Linked DNA regions of Homo sapiens: region 1 is linked to region 2. The links are contacts of gene promoters, found by promoter capture Hi-C in blood cells and fetal thymus (Javierre and others, 2016). All regions are on one chromosome and are shown on one strand. Each heading gives the region's core, a stretch centred on a gene start or on the middle of the fragment in contact. The rest is flanking DNA. Distances are from core to core; before and after follow the strand shown.

Evidence for each region. The method cuts DNA at HindIII sites, captures the fragments that hold promoters and counts their contacts. A CHiCAGO score of 5 or more calls a contact.
Region 1: a contact is called between a fragment that was not itself captured here and the fragment with the promoter of SPX in region 2, in 1 of 17 cell types (megakaryocytes). The highest score is 6.1, in megakaryocytes.

The regions. Positions count from the first base shown.
Region 1 is chr12:21,662,591-21,666,961 of GRCh38, forward strand. KCNJ8-AS1 (KCNJ8 antisense RNA 1) reads left to right here. Exons shown (of 5, transcript XR_007063241.1): 1 at 1-181. Among named protein-coding and RNA genes, the nearest start is that of KCNJ8-AS1, 2.5 kb to the left of the region's middle. The HindIII fragment of the contact is 1,198 bases long and covers 1,592-2,789 here.
Region 2 is chr12:21,524,421-21,528,824 of GRCh38, forward strand. SPX (spexin hormone) reads left to right here and starts at 1,876. Exons shown (of 6, transcript NM_030572.4): 1 at 1,876-2,058; 2 at 2,466-2,546; 3 at 2,715-2,772; 4 at 3,307-3,369. The coding sequence starts at 2,053. The HindIII fragment of the contact is 15,623 bases long and covers 1-4,404 here.

The DNA of each region.
Region 1 (4,371 bases), core at 941-3,440, 140 kb after region 2:
AGGAACAAACTCCGAACACGCCGCCTTTAAGAACTGTAATACTCACCGCGACGGCTTTTAAGAACTGTAACACTCACCGCGACGGTCGGCGGCTTCATTCTTGAAGTCAGTCAGACCAAGAACCTACCAATTCCGGACGCACTACCCGGGGGACATGATAAATCTGGGAAGGGCACCTCAGGTAAGCCTTTGACTTGCTAGGGGTTCAGCCTTGCTAGAGTTATACAGAGAATAAAATATGCATGTATAGTGAATTATACACAGTTTGAAGTTCATAGTTTTTGTCTGAAAGTGAGCTTTCAGGCAGAGGAGCTGAAAGATCAGCAGAGCCCATTAGAAACCAGAACTGCCCCACTTCTTTCCACATGGTGTTCTTCTCATTGTCTGGGTGCTGCTTCTGGGAACAGAAGCACCTAGTCTACATTCTCTGGGCATTGTGTGAAGTCGTCTGATGGCATCTATATTTCCCCTTCCTGGAACCATGAACTATTATCCTTTCTGGTGCCAAGGACTGCAGTTGCAAATACTTACTTTCTTATATCAGAGATCCTGAAGGAGATAGTAGCTTTTCTATGTTCTAGCTGTACACATTTCAAAACACAGATTTTTTTTTATTTGTTTAGTTTATGTTTTAGAAAATAAAAGGTTAATCAGAATGCAAATGCTGGTAATAAAACAAACAGTCCCGGCCAGCTTGTAATCACAGCACTTTGGGAGGCCAAGGCAGGTGGATCACGAGGTCAGGAGATCGAGACCATCCTGGCTAACATGGTGAAACCCCGTCTTTACTAAAAATACAAAAAATTAGCCGGGCATGGGCGGGGTGCGGCGGTTCATGCCTGTAATCCCAGAACTTTGGGAGGCCGAGGCAGGTGGATCACGACGTCAGGAGTTTGAGACCAGCCTGGCCAAGCTGGTGAAACCGCATCTCTACTAAAAATACAAAAATTAGCCAAGCACGGTGGTGGGCGCCTGTAATTCCAGCTACTCGGGAGGCTGAGGCAGGAGAATCACTTGAACTCCCTAGGCAGAGGTTGCCGTGAGCCGAGATCATGCCACTGCACTCTAGCCTGGGCAACAGAGCAAGACTTTGTCTCAAAAAAAAAAAAAAAAAAAAAAATTAGCTGGGTGTGGTGGCATTTGCCTGTAGTCCTAGCTACTCAGGAGGCTGAGGCAGGAGAATCGCTTGAACTCAGGAGGTGGAGGTTGCAGTGAGCTGAGATCACGCCACTGCATTCCAGCATGGGTGACAGAGTGAGACTCTGTATCAAAAAAAATAAATAAAGGAAAAAAAAAAACAGTCCGCCGCCTCTCTCTCATCCCCAGTCCTGATCCTCAGAGCAACTACTCATTCTTTCTGACTTCTTGAGTTGTAGTCCGAAAGTCCAGCTGCTGATTCCTTTCTCTCCCTGTGCTCATTTAAAATATGCATGAGTATCTAGTCCTTTAAATATACATTAATTTGTGAGGTGGAAAGTGTTATTACTGAGATTTTTTTGCTAGAAAACCCTAGAGTTCACTTGACTAAAGTTTTGTTAGAGTCCTGCAAAGCAATACACATCCAGGAATTTGTATTATATGATTTGTGTAAAGCTTTCATTTATTGAAAATAGTACTATGTGCCAGGCATGCAATGCATTAACTGCATGTAATAATGTGCTCACATGAACCAAGTATAAGTAATGCTTACTTTACTTATATTAACTTACGTAATCCTCATTTCAACCCTATGTGGTGGGTACTTTTATTTTTCTTATTTTAAGGATATGGGGAAACTGAATCACAGAAGGTCAATAACCTGACCAAGATCACACAACTAGTAAGCAGACTCTCTCTCTCCCTCTCTCTCTCTCTCTCTCTCTGTGTTTAAATTTTTGTTTTTTTTTTTCCTGAGACAGGGTCTTGCGCTCTCACCCAGGCTGGAGTGCTGTGGTGCAATCTGTGCTCACTGCAACCTCCGTCTCCTGGGTTCAAGCGATTCTCCTGCCTTAGCCTTCTGAGTAGCTGGGATTACAGGTACCCACCACCATGCCCAGCTAATTTTTGTATTTATAGTAGAGACAGGGTTTCACCATGTTGACCAGGCTGGTCTCAAACTCCTGACCTCAAACTCCTGACCTCAGATGATCCTCCCGCCTCAGCCTCCCAAAGTGCTGGCATTACAGGTGTGAGCCACTGCACCCCGCCGGATCATTCTTAACATACAGATTTATACAGATTTGTTTCCTTTTAAAAAATGGTTACTAAATATTCAATCATTCAGAAACACCATGATGTATTTAACTGTTCCCATATTTTGAGACATTATGCTTTTTACTATGATAAATAATGTTGTATAGATATCATTGTACATTGTAGTCATCTGTATTTGTCATTGCTTGGGTAGGTCTCTGAAAGTGAAATTCCTGGGTAAAAGAGTAGAACAGTTTTTTGGAAGGGCTGTACCCTTTGATTCCAAACCCCATCTGCATATGTCTTACTATACTGTCATCATATTGCATATTACTAAATTTTATTTGTCCAGTTTGTCAGATGAAAAGGGTATTTGGTTCTCTTCTGCAATTATAGAGGCAGTAGGAAAAAAAGTGATGTTTTGTTATAAATTTGTATAACTATGATTATTGGTTGTGTATACTTTCACATTTTTTAAACTTTCCATTATCTGCTCCTCTACCAAAGTGAGCATTCTTCTTGTTTTGTTTCTCTACTTAGCAACTATTCACTTTACTTCTGAAAACAGCCTCGGGGTTTTCTATCCTCTCATCTCTTCCTCTCCTTAAATACATCAAAGCTTCCCAAAGGAAAAACCTATCTAAAACTGGAGCCAAACAAGGGGAATAAGACGAGAGACAGCAAAAGAGAAGCCAGTGATGGCATTCGAGTTTCTGCATCAAGAGCAACGTAAGCCGGGCGCAGTGGCTCAGGCCTGTAATCCCAGCAGTTTGGGAGGCCGAGGCGGGCAGATCACAAGGTCAGTTCAAGACCAGCCTGACCAATATGGTGAAACCCTGTCTCTACTAAAAATATAAAAATTAGCCAGGCATGGTGGGTGGTGGTGGGCACCTGTAGTCCCAGCTACTCGGGAGGCTGAGGCAGGAGAATCGCTTGAACCTGGGAGGCGGAGGTTGCAGTGAGCCGAGATCACACCACTGCACTCCAGCACTCCAGCACTCCAGCCTGGGTGACAGAGCAAAACTCTCTCTCAAAAAAAAAAAAAAAAAAAAAAAAAAAAGGCAACATAATGCAGCCTCGTCCCTAGGCTAGTTTAGGTAAGCAAACTTCACTGACGATAAAAGAGGTCCTAACTGATGTATTATTTTGACCAGTTTGAAATTACAATGTCATTGTTATTTCAATACTGATAAAAGAAAAACTCAGCCAAATTAAATTTAAAGGAGTTGAATTGAGCAATGAATGTTTTGCGAATCGGGCAGCCCCCCCAAATCTCAGCAGATTCACAGAGGCTCCAGCGCAGCCATGTGGTGGAAGAAGACTTACAGACAAAAAAAAAGGGAAATGACGTACAGAAATTGGAAGTGAGGTACAGAATGGCTGGATTGGTTACAGCTCGGTGTTTGCCTTATTTGAACACAGTTTTAACACTCATCAGTGTATGAATGGTTGAAGTATGGCCTCTGGAATGGCCAAGACTTAGCTATAGTTACAGATGCATACTCTGAAGTTACGTTTTCAATTTTGTCTGACTACTAAGCTAGGTTACAGTTCATCCACAAGGACTCAAATATAGAAGTATGGAGTCTTTCTCGGGCCATATTTAGTTTGCTTTAATAATATCAAAATACTAAAAGTAAGGGTGATTTTAAAAAACGTTTTATTTTGTGTTAATTTTAAACTCAGAATAAGTTGCCAAAACTGTTTGGTGAGTTCCCATGTATCCATCACTCAGCTTCCTCCCATAATAACAACTTACTTTATCATTGAGCTTGTTAATATCAGAAAATGAACACTGGTACACTACTGTAAGCTAAACTAGGGACCTTATTCAAATTTTAGCAATTTTAATATTAATATGAGTATTTTTTTAAAAATACACATTTATTCATGTTAAGCAATTTGTGCATTGTGGATAGATTGTTTTTCTAACTAGAAAGTAAATATTAAAAATACTTAAAAATATATCAGGCACTACCTAGGTTTTTAGGCAATATCAGTGGACTCAGGAGTTTATTTTACTTTTAGAGTAGAAAACGTTGGAGAGAACATTTGCCTCAGGCATTCTGAGAGTGGATTGAGCATTTACGTTAATTATTATGTCTTACTCATTATTTCAGACAGGTTAAAATGTAACTTCTTGCAGTGTTCTCGTGTACCACGAAGGAATTTGTTCCTACCCTCATCCATCACCAGTGG
Region 2 (4,404 bases), core at 626-3,125:
AATCCAGTGGATGTTTCTTGGAGCTAATGTTGCTTGACCTCCCAATACTACTGGATCTTCACTTGGCTTCCATGATATCAGGGTCCCCTGGAATTTCTCCTTTCTTTCTGACTCTACCTCAACCTCCTTTTCTGGCTCTTCCTCTGCTCATTCTCTATGCGTTTGTTTTCATAGCTCTGTCCCTGCCACTCTTCTTTAGCCCTATTCACTCCCTAAGTGTTGTGTTTAATCTCATCCCTTTACTGGTTGTAAAATTCTTAGAATTCTTAAAATTCTTAAAGCTAATCATTTCTGCCCCCCACCAAAAAGAAAATCTGTAGGCTGGTGACCTCTTGGCTGACCTCTATCAAGTTTTGCATTTCTAACCTTCTATTTTGTACTTGTACTTGGATATTTTTAATATACATTTTAATTTTAATATGCCTATATGGCAAGTGTTAATTTCCCTCTCATAACTTGCTTCTTAAGAAGTTTCTCTAATTTCAGTAAATTACTTCATAATTTACCCACAGTTTTATCCATAAACCTAAGAATCATCCTTGATTTATTTTTCTCACACTTTCATATCCCTTTTATATACAAGTTCTATATTTTCTACCTCCACAACATGTATTCCAAATTCATTTACAGCTCTTCTTTCCCTGTGTGTACCATCCCAGTGTAAGCCATCATCATCTATTGCTTATAATCGTATTTCCACATCAACTGGCCCATTTCTTCTTCTCCAATCTCATTTCAAAGCACCTCCCCCGTTCACCCACACAACGCTGCCTCCATTGGCCTCTTTCCTAGTCCCCAAGCAAGTCATGCTCTTTGCTGTCCACAGATTTTGCTTTTCTTTCTTCTATTGAGAATGCCTGGAATACTAATTCCTGCCCAGCTTCTCCCATTACTTCACCTTATCCTTCAAGACTACCCTCTGTTTTTAACCTTCCCTAAAGTAGCCCACCACTTATCCTATCACATCACCTTGCTTACTTTTACTTAACAATTTAAAACATTCTGTAGTTACAGTAGTCCCTGCTTATCCACGGTTTCACTTTCCATGGTTTCAGTTACCCATGGTCAACTACAGTCTGAAAATATTAAATGGGAAATTCCAGAATTAATAAGTTTAAATTGTGAGCTTTAAATCTGAGTAGGGTGTTGAAATCTCTCACTGTCCAGCTCCAGCCCACCCAAGACATGAACCATCTTTTTGTCCAGCATGTCCATATGTAAACACCACTCTCCCATTAATCAGTTAGTAACCATCTTGGTGAACAGATAAAAAAAAATAGTATAATAAGGCATATACGTATCAGTGGTTTCAGGCATCCACTGTGGGTCTTGAAACATGCTCCTCCACCCCACACACACCTACGATTAAGGGGTAACTACTGTGTCTTATTTATCTATTCATCAGTTTACTGTGTACCTTAACTAGTAGGTAACTTAGATCAAAGCAGAGACCATGTCTTTTCAGTGCATGGCTGTGTCCCTTGAAATACAAGGATTGTGTGTCTCATAGGCACTCAATAAATATTTGCTAAACAACAGAATGAATTGATAATTAAGTGAATGACTGATGTCAAATTCCATTGAGATTCCCAAACCTTTTCATACATCTTTAGCCATCAGTGATAGACTGATGGCTAGTTACCCAAGAAAAGTTTTCTGATTTATTCTTTTACTTTTGATTCTGCCTTGGACTATTGATTGTTTTCATTAATAATAATAATAACATGTTACTTTGGGCAGCTAGTAGGAAAAGCAAGGCCAATGATGCTGACACATTCTGAAGGCCTCCTGGGTGATGCAATCAGTATTTAAACAAATAATTTCTGCCCATCAATCATTCCTCTACTTCCTGCAATGAAGCTCCCTGGAGGAGTCATCAGATTCTCAATCTTGCTTGAAGACTGACAAGATGTCCCTGTGGACTCCCAAACTCTACTCCAGATGGGGAGGTGCCCTTAACACCAAGATTTTAAAAGCTCCAATTTCAGAGCAAGAGTCGAAAACTCACAGATAAAGTTATAGTTATTTCAGGGTTCTGAAAAGACGCAGAACATGAAGGTAAGTAAAGGCTTTATTAACTTGAGACTTCTTAGCTATTTTTTAAAACGTTTTATAGCATTTTACCTATTTCATGTTTAATAAGGATTTTAGAGTTTAAAGGATATTTGAACGATACGCCTTTAGAATAACAGAATCATTTGATTTTACTAAGAAAAAAATTCACGTATTTACTTATTCTTCATTTGGGTGAAGTAATACAAATAATATGTTTCTAAATACGTTTTTTCAAGTGGACTCTTTGTGAATTAACTAGAAGGTAGAAGGGAAACACCTCCAGAAAACTGAGTATTAAAACAGAATATTGCGAGAAGTAAGGGGGTTTATAATTGTCCAGGCGTCAAGGAAGGAAGCAGAAGATCCTATTGGCACAGAAATGACCCTTTCTGGTTGATCGCTTCATATAGGGACTCAGAAGTCTGGCAGCAACAACCTTGGCTCTTTTCCTGGTGTTTGTTTTCCTGGGAAACTCCAGCTGCGCTCCGCAGGTAATCAAATGCAAAATAAAAAATTTTAAAACAATGCGCACTGTGTGTCCACTCTGCTCTTTCTTTCTTCCTTCTTGTTTTATTCTCTTCTTTTTCCTTTATTTTGCTGTAATAGAGGACTGAGCTGCAATGTTTTATTAACTGCTCTTCCCTTCCCCCGGGCTATAGAGACTGTTGGAGAGAAGGAACTGGACTCCTCAAGCTATGCTCTACCTGAAAGGGGCACGTAAGTTCCAAATATTTCGCTCTTCCTACAATAATGGAAGACCCCTAGGAGTCAGGAACAGATAGATGGAGAGTTATGGAGAGAGAATAATGTCGAGTTTATTCCCTTAAATCATCGAGGCCATCAAAGAGACCGGTAGGTGAGGGAGGGGTGGGAGAGGGGAAGAGTCCCTGATTATTGGAAATCCTCCATCCTTATTAGAAATTCTCCATCCAAAACTGGAGGGTTGCTTCTCTTGGTCCAAATGGGGACTCGGGTTGCCTGGGAAATATCTCAGTAACCCGACCTCCGCTCCAAAGCGCCCTTGCGGCGTCCGGTCAGGCGCGGGGCTTTCCTCCAGAGCTCCAGGGCCCCTGGCTCAGCCCGGGGTTGCGCTGGGAGCGCTGGAAACTCGGCAGCCCCGCGCGACCCTATCCTGGAGCAACCTGCCCCCTCCCCACGCCCGGGGACTGCGCTGTGCCGGGAGGAGCTGAGGTTTAAGCCCGGGTTGTCCCGGGCCAGGCTGTCGCTGAGCCCCAGGTCTCGTTTTTGCAGAGGGTCGCCGCTTCATCTCCGACCAGAGCCGGAGAAAGGACCTCTCCGACCGGCCACTGCCGGGTGAGTGACCAAGGGTGCAAGGGCGCTAGTCCTGCGCTTTTGGAATAGGATGGGGCGGGCAGGGCTTGCTCCGCGCTGGTGCCGAAAGAAAGCGTCTCCTCACCGGAAAGACGCGGCTCTGAGGCGCCCTCAGATACAGTCCGCCCGAGGGCAGCCCGGGTTGGCAGCAGCAGCAGCTGGATGCCGAGCGCCGGAGCTGGGAGCTCGCGCGTCCAGCCCCGCGCCAATGGTGGCAAGGGCGGCCCAGGCTGGCGCTGCGGCTCCCCAAGCCTTATTGGCTTGCGGCTGTTCAGCCAGCCCTCTGGCTGCCAGGGTGTGCAGAGGTCCCCAGGGAGTTAGGACCTGAGGTGCAGCTCAGAGGGGTAAGGCGAGATAGGAAGAACTATGCAAATGCTTCTAGAAATGTATCTGCGCGTTTGTGCAGGAACTTTACTCAGCCTCCTCTTAAACGCTGTTATTATTAAAATAAGAACTTACCTAGGAACTTCAAATGTATGCTTTTGTTTGACTAGAAAGAACTATCAAAGGTTCAAAATCAAAAGAGTAACATGCGGGCAGTTAAGGATGGGACCGGGGACTGTTCTTTTTCATGATAAACCTTTCCATCGTATTGTATTAACAAATAACAATACAATTTGATGAAATTGTAAAGATTGAAATGCTAAAATTAAAAAGTATACTTACTTGGAAAAATACCAAACACTGTTGAACACATAGTAGGTGCTTAAATTTTTGTTTAGGCTCTTCAAACATGCTGTGTAATTGAGCTTATTTATTTTATGAGGTTAAGATTTGTTTCTCAACTTCAGTTGCCCCAAATTAGAAATCATGTTTTGTGCTGAATCAGAACAATTTGTCTTTTTTCAACTTAGATTTGAAATAACTTTGAGTTCTTAGCAGATACTCCTTCAGTCAAATAATTACCTTATATTTGGCCGCAAAGGTTAAATTATTATCTAAAATTCTCTTTGGCATATAGTTTAACATTCTCTTCCATACCCTGTTTGTAAACTTGACATAACCAATTGTAAGTCA